Regions from separate parts of the Homo sapiens genome. Here region 1 is linked to region 2. Evidence: promoter capture Hi-C in 16 types of primary human blood cells and fetal thymus (Javierre and others, 2016). All regions are on one chromosome and are shown on one strand. The core of a region is centred on a gene start or on the middle of the fragment in contact, and the rest is flanking DNA. Distances in the headings are between cores, read along the strand shown. Region 1 overlaps VPS37C (VPS37C subunit of ESCRT-I). Region 2 holds the start of PTGDR2 (prostaglandin D2 receptor 2).

Region 1 (3,462 bases), core at 55-2,554, 280 kb after region 2:
AGGGAGGTTTTCCTCCTGTTGCGGGGTATGGGGACTGTTGAGGATAACCAGGACTGGGGGCCCTGCCTCCCCGCAAGGGGTACCCAGGCCCAGAGGCACCCATTGGGGTCCCAGGATAGCCCGGCCGGGGTGGCATGCTCCTCTGTGGGGACCAGGAGTAACCCGCAGCACCCCTGGGTCCAAGCTGGGCTGCCGGGTAAGTGGGGCCCAGAGGCCCGCTGTAGAAGGAGGGCTGGGACACTACTGGGAAAGGGGCCGGTGGCAGGGCTCCATGGGCAGTGGGGCCCACAGGCAGGCTGGGGGATGGGCTGTAGGGCAAAGGGTAGGGAGGCATGGCTAATGGTGGCTGCGGCTGCTCTTCAACCACAGGGGGTGTTCCCTGGGGGACTGGGCGCACCGGGGGTGGTGGACGGGGTGGAGGGGCATCGCCGGCCAGCTCCTGGGAAGCCCTGGGCTTCCTCACCACTTCCTGGAGCTTTTCCACGCGAACCCGGCGCAGGTGGGACAGCATCCTCATGGAGGAAAAATTCTCCAGGAACGTTTCCAGGGGCACCTCGCCCTCCAGGAACTTCTCAGCCATGGCCTGGAAGACATAAGGTCCAGTGACAACAGGGGCAGCTGGGATCAAGGCCTCTTGATTTTCCCCAGGGTCTGAGTTCAGCTGCAGCCCTCCCACCTCACGCCGCCTCAGGCACCCCCTCCTCTTCCCTGCCCATACGCCCCTTCTCACAGCTGACATATGGTACATGCACTGTCTCCCTCACTAGAATGTCAGTCCCTTGAAGGCGAGGACTGTCTCTGTCGTGGTCACCTCTGTCCTGGCACCTTGGCATCATGCCAGGCCCACAGTGGCCACTGCATATATGTGCTGAACACCTGGATGAGCACTAGCCCAGGGACTGGGAGGGCCTAGAAGCTTCTTCCACCCAGACACAGAGTGGACAGCACCAGTTTGCCCACAGAGGCTGAAGAGGTGGCCGGAGGGAAGCAGGAAGCAGGGAGAGTGGAGTAGGGAGCTGGCCTCAGCCCCTGGGGGCCTCCTGCTGTGCTGCCCTACCATCCAGGGCTGCGAGCTGCCCTTGTCCACTGTCACCCGTTTCTGCTTCAGCTAGTGGGACTGGGTTCCTGTTATTTATACCCAAAAGGCCTCCCCAGGACTAAAGATGTCCTTCACCTCTGCCATCTACGAAAGCTCCCTTGTTCCATGCTTTGCAGACATCTGCTTCTCCTTCCAAGGGCCCCTGCTGCAGGGACTGACACCCCGTCCAGGGAAGAGGGGTGTCGCCTCGCCCTCTCACCTCGGACTCTTCTTCGATCTTCATGCCTTCCACCTGCAGAAGGTCTAACAAGGTCCCTGGCTGCAGTGCTGAAGAAAATTTCTCTGGAAGGGAGGGCAGAACGACTGACATTTGAAAAGTGCTTCCTGATTCAGTGTTAAAGGCACTTTGCATACCCTCTGTGTGCATCCAGGCCCAGCCACCACAGCAGGGTCCACCAAAGGGTCCTTCTGGGTGGGCTTGATGAGCACTTTTGGTCCAGTTCCTTCCTGAGCAGAGAAGGGCCCGAATGAACCTAGCCTAGACCTTGGCCAAGCCTACCCTACGCCATCCTGGGATGGGAAATGACTTGGGCTTCAGAGCCCAACTGACCCAGTTCTGCCTGCCAGCAAGGGGAGTTACCTAACCTGAGTGTCAAGCTTTCTCACCATCAAGACAAGGACCACCCTCCCACCTTCAAAGGTGACAGGTCCTGGGACACAGAGAGCCCAGAGCAGCTCAGGAACAGCTCAGTAAAGCATAGAAGCTGAGCTGCCAAGGGTAACGGCAGCAGCAAAGGATGCAGGCTGTCTCAATTCAAATCCCAATTCCACCTATTTCTAAGCTGGGTGACCTTAGTCAAGTTATTGAATCTCTCTGAGCCTCATTTTTCTTACCTATAAAATGGAGTAACAACAGTACCCACCCTTCTATGGCTGTTGTGAAAAAATATACATAAAGCACTTAGCACAGGGCTGGGAACACGGTGGGCCTCCGTCCAACCCTGAATGGGGACCCTGAGTTCACAGAGGAGCCACCCTACCCAGCTTTGCCTTCTGCTCCTGGCACCGCTCCACGAGCTTCCGGAGCTCCTGGTATCTATCCGAGAGGTTTGAGCGGCTGATCTCCAGGGGACCCTGGAACTCCAAGTTCCGCTCTGCCAGGCTCCGGTTGGTGGCCAGTGCCATCTCCCGTTCCAGCTGTAGGTCCTGGACCTAAAAGGGCAGGACAACAGAACCTAAGGAAAACGTCCATCACCCTTAACCTCCTGGCAGCCTGGGTCAGGGGCTTCGGGGACACATTGCTCACCTTGGGGCGGAGAGGCTCATCCTTGGGGCAATACTCAGCCCTCAACTAGTCAGACAAAGCCAGGTTCAAACCCTGAATGAAGTACTCTGCGCCTCACTTAATCCTTAACCCACAGCCCACGAGGTGGAGACGCATGGGAACCTGGCGCTGAAGGTGAAGAGCTCGCCCAAGGCCATGTGATTGATATCCATGATGGAATGTGCAGAGCCCCAAGGAGGGGGTGGACCAATTTACATGAGAAAAAGCAGAGGCTTTCCAGGAGGGAGGGGATCAAAAGTCCCAATTACTTATCCCCAAGCTTCAGAGTCAAGAGACCTACCATGGTGGGCTCAGGTGGTCCTGGCCAGATGCACAGGCAAGACATATAATGAGGCCCCAAATAAAGTTATTGTGAGGGGTGAGAGAGCCAGGTCCCTGGACCAGACCATGCCACTGACTTAGGAGAGACCTGGACCTGCCTCCTATGCCACACATGTGTCCTGCAGAGAAGCTGCACAGATGAGCCAGAGGGGCCACCCTGGACATTCCCTGCTGCAAACACTTCCCCAAGCCAAGCGGCACTTTACCCCTCTGCCAGGCTCTTCGTCGCTGCCAGCCAGTGAGACAGAAGCCAAGGCACCCTTGCCAGCTGTTGTGATGTGACGCCCCATGCATCCGCCAAGGAGTCCTCTTCCTAAGAGGAGGGCTGAGGAGTCAGACCTGCATGCTGAGCCAGCAGTGACAGTACACTGTCAGCAGCATGGGGCACCAGAAGAGAGGCCTCGGCACCCGCCACAGGGCGCAGGGAACAGCTCAGCAAGACTGACTCTAAGTCAGGCCCTCACTGTGCAGCTTCTCTGTGCAGCTTCTCCACCATGGTCAGCATGTGACAGACCAAGCCAGACTGGCTCATGCCCCACGAGACATAGGAAGCCCGTGGGCATTCTGGAAGAGGCGGCCTCGGGGAAAGGCTACCCCTTCTGCTGTCCCAGCTACAGGGGCCGAGGTCCTGCACTCTGGGGCAGGCCCATTGCCTCTTCTTTGTGCTCCAGATTGGAAAGAGGGATACCACAGCTTCCTGCCCTCCCTGAGCCCTCCAGACAAGGCTGCCAGGGTTCAGGGATGTAGGGCCCAGGGT
Region 2 (3,279 bases), core at 555-3,054:
GAGCACTGGCGGGTGAAGGAGGCCCCACAATTAGGGCAAGAGGATTCTGCTGGCCTGGGCGATGGAGATGCTGCCCCTTCCCACAGCATCCACAGCGCCCCCAGATGTTGCCTCTCTACAGATCCTCCATGCAGCTCCCCGCACTCAGTGGTGGCTGGTTAGATGTGCCGACCATAAACAGTGGAACCAGCCCCTCCTCTGATGGTTGGAGAGGAAATAAGATAAGAGCCAGGAGAGCTGGGGAGGAGGAACTCCCACATGGGGCTCTGGAGGCCCAGTGGGGCCAAAAGATCTCTCCCTTCTCAGGAGCAGCCACAGCAGCTCTCTCCGCCCCAGGAAACCCACCCCTGTTCATTCACTTACTCCATCATGCACTCATCCAACAAATAAGACGTGCATGCTTACATCCTCATTGAAAGCCCGAAAGACCATCTGATGTGAGGCTGGTCAAGACCAGTGAGGGCTGAGGAAATTCCATGAGGCTCCATGCAGGAGGTAGGAGGCAAGTAGCAGGGGACAGGGACTCAGGGTGTCCTGGGCACCAATGACACTCCAGGTACTATGGTAGGTCCTTCACATAGGTGCTGTCTTTCTGGCTCTAGAAAAATGGTGCTAGTACTCCATCCTATTTTACAGATGAGAAAACTGAGCCTCAAGTGGTTAAATAACTGGCCCAGAGCCACCCAGACAGCACAAACATGTGGAGGAGAAAGTTTCATGCTCAGCCTGTGCTCTTTCCTCTACCCCTACTCCAAGGAAGAGAGGATGGAGGAGGAGGAAGAAAAGCGGGAGAGGGGAGCAATGGTCTTCAGTACTCATCTTTCTAGGGAAAACACTGTTGGCCAGGATGAGAAAACCCACTCCCTTCCAGAGACCACAGTCCTTTGTAGAGTGGGGTTCTGGAATATCAAACTAGAATTCTGCTGGCGGAGGAGCCCCTTGGAGCTAGAGACCTGCAGGTAGATGGAAGAGGAGCCTGTGCTTCCTGAGAATGGTCATACTTCCTAGGCTTTAGAATGTGCAGAGCAGTTACTCTTGCAATGAACCTATGACACCCCATTTTTCAGAAGAAGAAACAACAACTTGCCCAGCGTTCCTCAGCTGCAACAGTGGGGCTGGGACTTCACTCCCAGCAGATAGCCAAGTACCACCCGCTGTCTGCCCTGAAACATTCCCTGCAGACCAGCTGCTGCTGATCCAAGTCCTATGGGGATGATCAGAGAGCACAGTCCTGCCACACCCTTGGGCACCACCAGATCAGTCCTTCTAACTCTATAGAGACAGCCCCCAGCCTCCCAGGATTCTCAGGAGCCAAGCAGCTAAGGTCCGGCTTTGGCAGGTTAAGAAAAAAAAAAAAAAAAAGGGACAGAGAGTGCAAGCTGTGGGAGTCCAAGACCTGGGTTTGAATCCCAGCTCCTCAGCTTCCTGGCTGCGTGACCTTGGGCCAGTTACTCTAAGCGTGCTGGTGTCATCTTCCCACCCAGACTGCTTGTGAATATTGACAGACAGTTGAGTGGTTTCCCCTCGTATCTGACATCTAGTTAATGCCTAAGAGAAGCTAATCCTTCCCTCCTCTGAGCACCAAGTCCCCTCCAGTCTTTGGTAAACTCAATCTTCTGCCATCCTAGCTGGTAACAGCCCTCTCACCTGGTAAAACTTTGCCTTCTTCTGTGGGTCTAGAGAGGGCACTAGGCTGCCCAACCCCTGGGCCACTCCTCCTTACCTGGGCACAGAGGGAGCACAGGATTCCAGCCCTGGAGGCAGTCAGCTCCTGACAGCAGCTAGACAAGAGGCAGCGGGCAGACAGAGGTGGGAGAGGGAGGCTGAGAGAGGAAATAGCTGTCAGCCCCAGTGCATGTGTGTTTAGGGGTGGGGTTGGGGGAGGCGGGGACAGCTGGAGAGTGAGTTGCCACACAGATGTTCAAATATCATCAATTTCCATCAATGCCGGCAGCCCCTGCTCCACCCATCCCCGCTTCATGAAGGAGACTGCAGAAGTCCAGAGGGCAGTGCAAGTGCACGTGAAAAAATCGATGTGTGCAAGAGAGTGTGAGCCCGAGTGTGACTAGGGGTGTGCTTTTGAGAGTGACCAGTGTGTAGGATAAGTGCGTGAGAAGGAGAATGTCTCATCCATCTGTCCACTGTTCCTGGGCTTCCATCTCCCGACACCAGAATCCTCAGAGAAGAAACCCCTCCAGCTGTTCTGAGTTTCCCAGGCAGTGTGGGGGCCTGTCCATGAGGGACCCGAGGGCTCTAAGGCCAGGAAAGTACAGTGGGGTAGTGGGGGCAGTGGCAAGAACGCAGTCCAAGAGGTCAGTCACTTCTGTTTGCTGAGCCCTGGGGTTGTCATCTGTGAACGGGAGCAGTAACATCGGCCTTACAGGCTGTGGTAAGGGTTGAATGAGATGGATTGCACAAAGCTCGTGGCACACAGTAAGTGCTTATAAAAATCAGCTTCCTTCTCCTCTGAGGGAAAAATGAATATAGGCTCTAAGGCAAAGGTCATATAGCTTTTATTTAAAACAGGCTCAATTTTGGGAGGCCGAGGCGGATGGATCACTTGAGGTCAGGAGTTCAAGACCAGACTGGCCAATGTGGCAAAACCCCTGTCTGTACTAAAAATACAAAACTCAGCCAGGCGTGGTGGCACATGCCTGTAACCCCAGCTACTTGGGAGGCTGAGGCATGAGAATCGCTTAAACCCAGGAGGTGGAGGTTGCATTGAGCCGAGATCACACCACTGCACTCCAACCTGGGTGACAGAGTAAAAACTCCATCTCAAAAAAAAAAAAATGGAAATTTAAACTAAAAAACAAAAACAAACAAACAAAAAAACACACAGGCTCAAAGCCCTAGGATAAGAGAAGTTTGCATTTCATTGTTCCCTAACTCCTTACTCTCATTTGCTGACCAAGCTTCCTGGGGTCAGGACCATCCCTTCAACCTCAGCATCTCAGCACCTAATGGATACTCATTAAAACATTTTAAGAACTCAATATCCCTGTATCGAGGCAAAGGCACCTCCCATGAGATGGACAGCACAAGCATCTTCCATTTAGGCCTAGTCTTAACGCAGAGACTAATGCATAATACGCTCTTGCTGAGAGGCTACCATCATGAGTGGAAAATGAGTAAAATGCTATGCCCTTGTGATGGGGATAATACATCTCACTGTAGCCCAATATGGCAGATCAGTAAGAGCCTTGGTGATCCAAATCATTAACAATAGGAAAATGTCCCCTCTCCTCCAGGTCAGGGAAGGCTTGATTTCCAAAGACA

The links. The method cuts DNA at HindIII sites, captures the fragments that hold promoters and counts their contacts. A CHiCAGO score of 5 or more calls a contact.
Region 1: a contact is called between a fragment that was not itself captured here and the fragment with the promoter of PTGDR2 in region 2, in 1 of 17 cell types (naive CD8 T cells). The highest score is 8.1, in naive CD8 T cells.

The regions. Positions count from the first base shown.
Region 1 is chr11:61,131,957-61,135,418 of GRCh38, forward strand. VPS37C (VPS37C subunit of ESCRT-I) reads right to left here. Exons shown (of 5, transcript NM_017966.5): 3 at 2,080-2,251; 4 at 1,299-1,381; 5 at 1-583. Among named protein-coding and RNA genes, the nearest start is that of VPS37C, 28 kb to the right of the region's middle. RefSeq lists enhancers at 2,801-3,316, 3,317-3,462. The HindIII fragment of the contact is 780 bases long and covers 915-1,694 here.
Region 2 is chr11:60,854,146-60,857,424 of GRCh38, forward strand. It overlaps PTGDR2 (prostaglandin D2 receptor 2), which reads right to left and starts at 1,805. Exons shown (of 2, transcript NM_004778.3): 1 at 1,724-1,805. The HindIII fragment of the contact is 12,934 bases long and covers 1-2,913 here.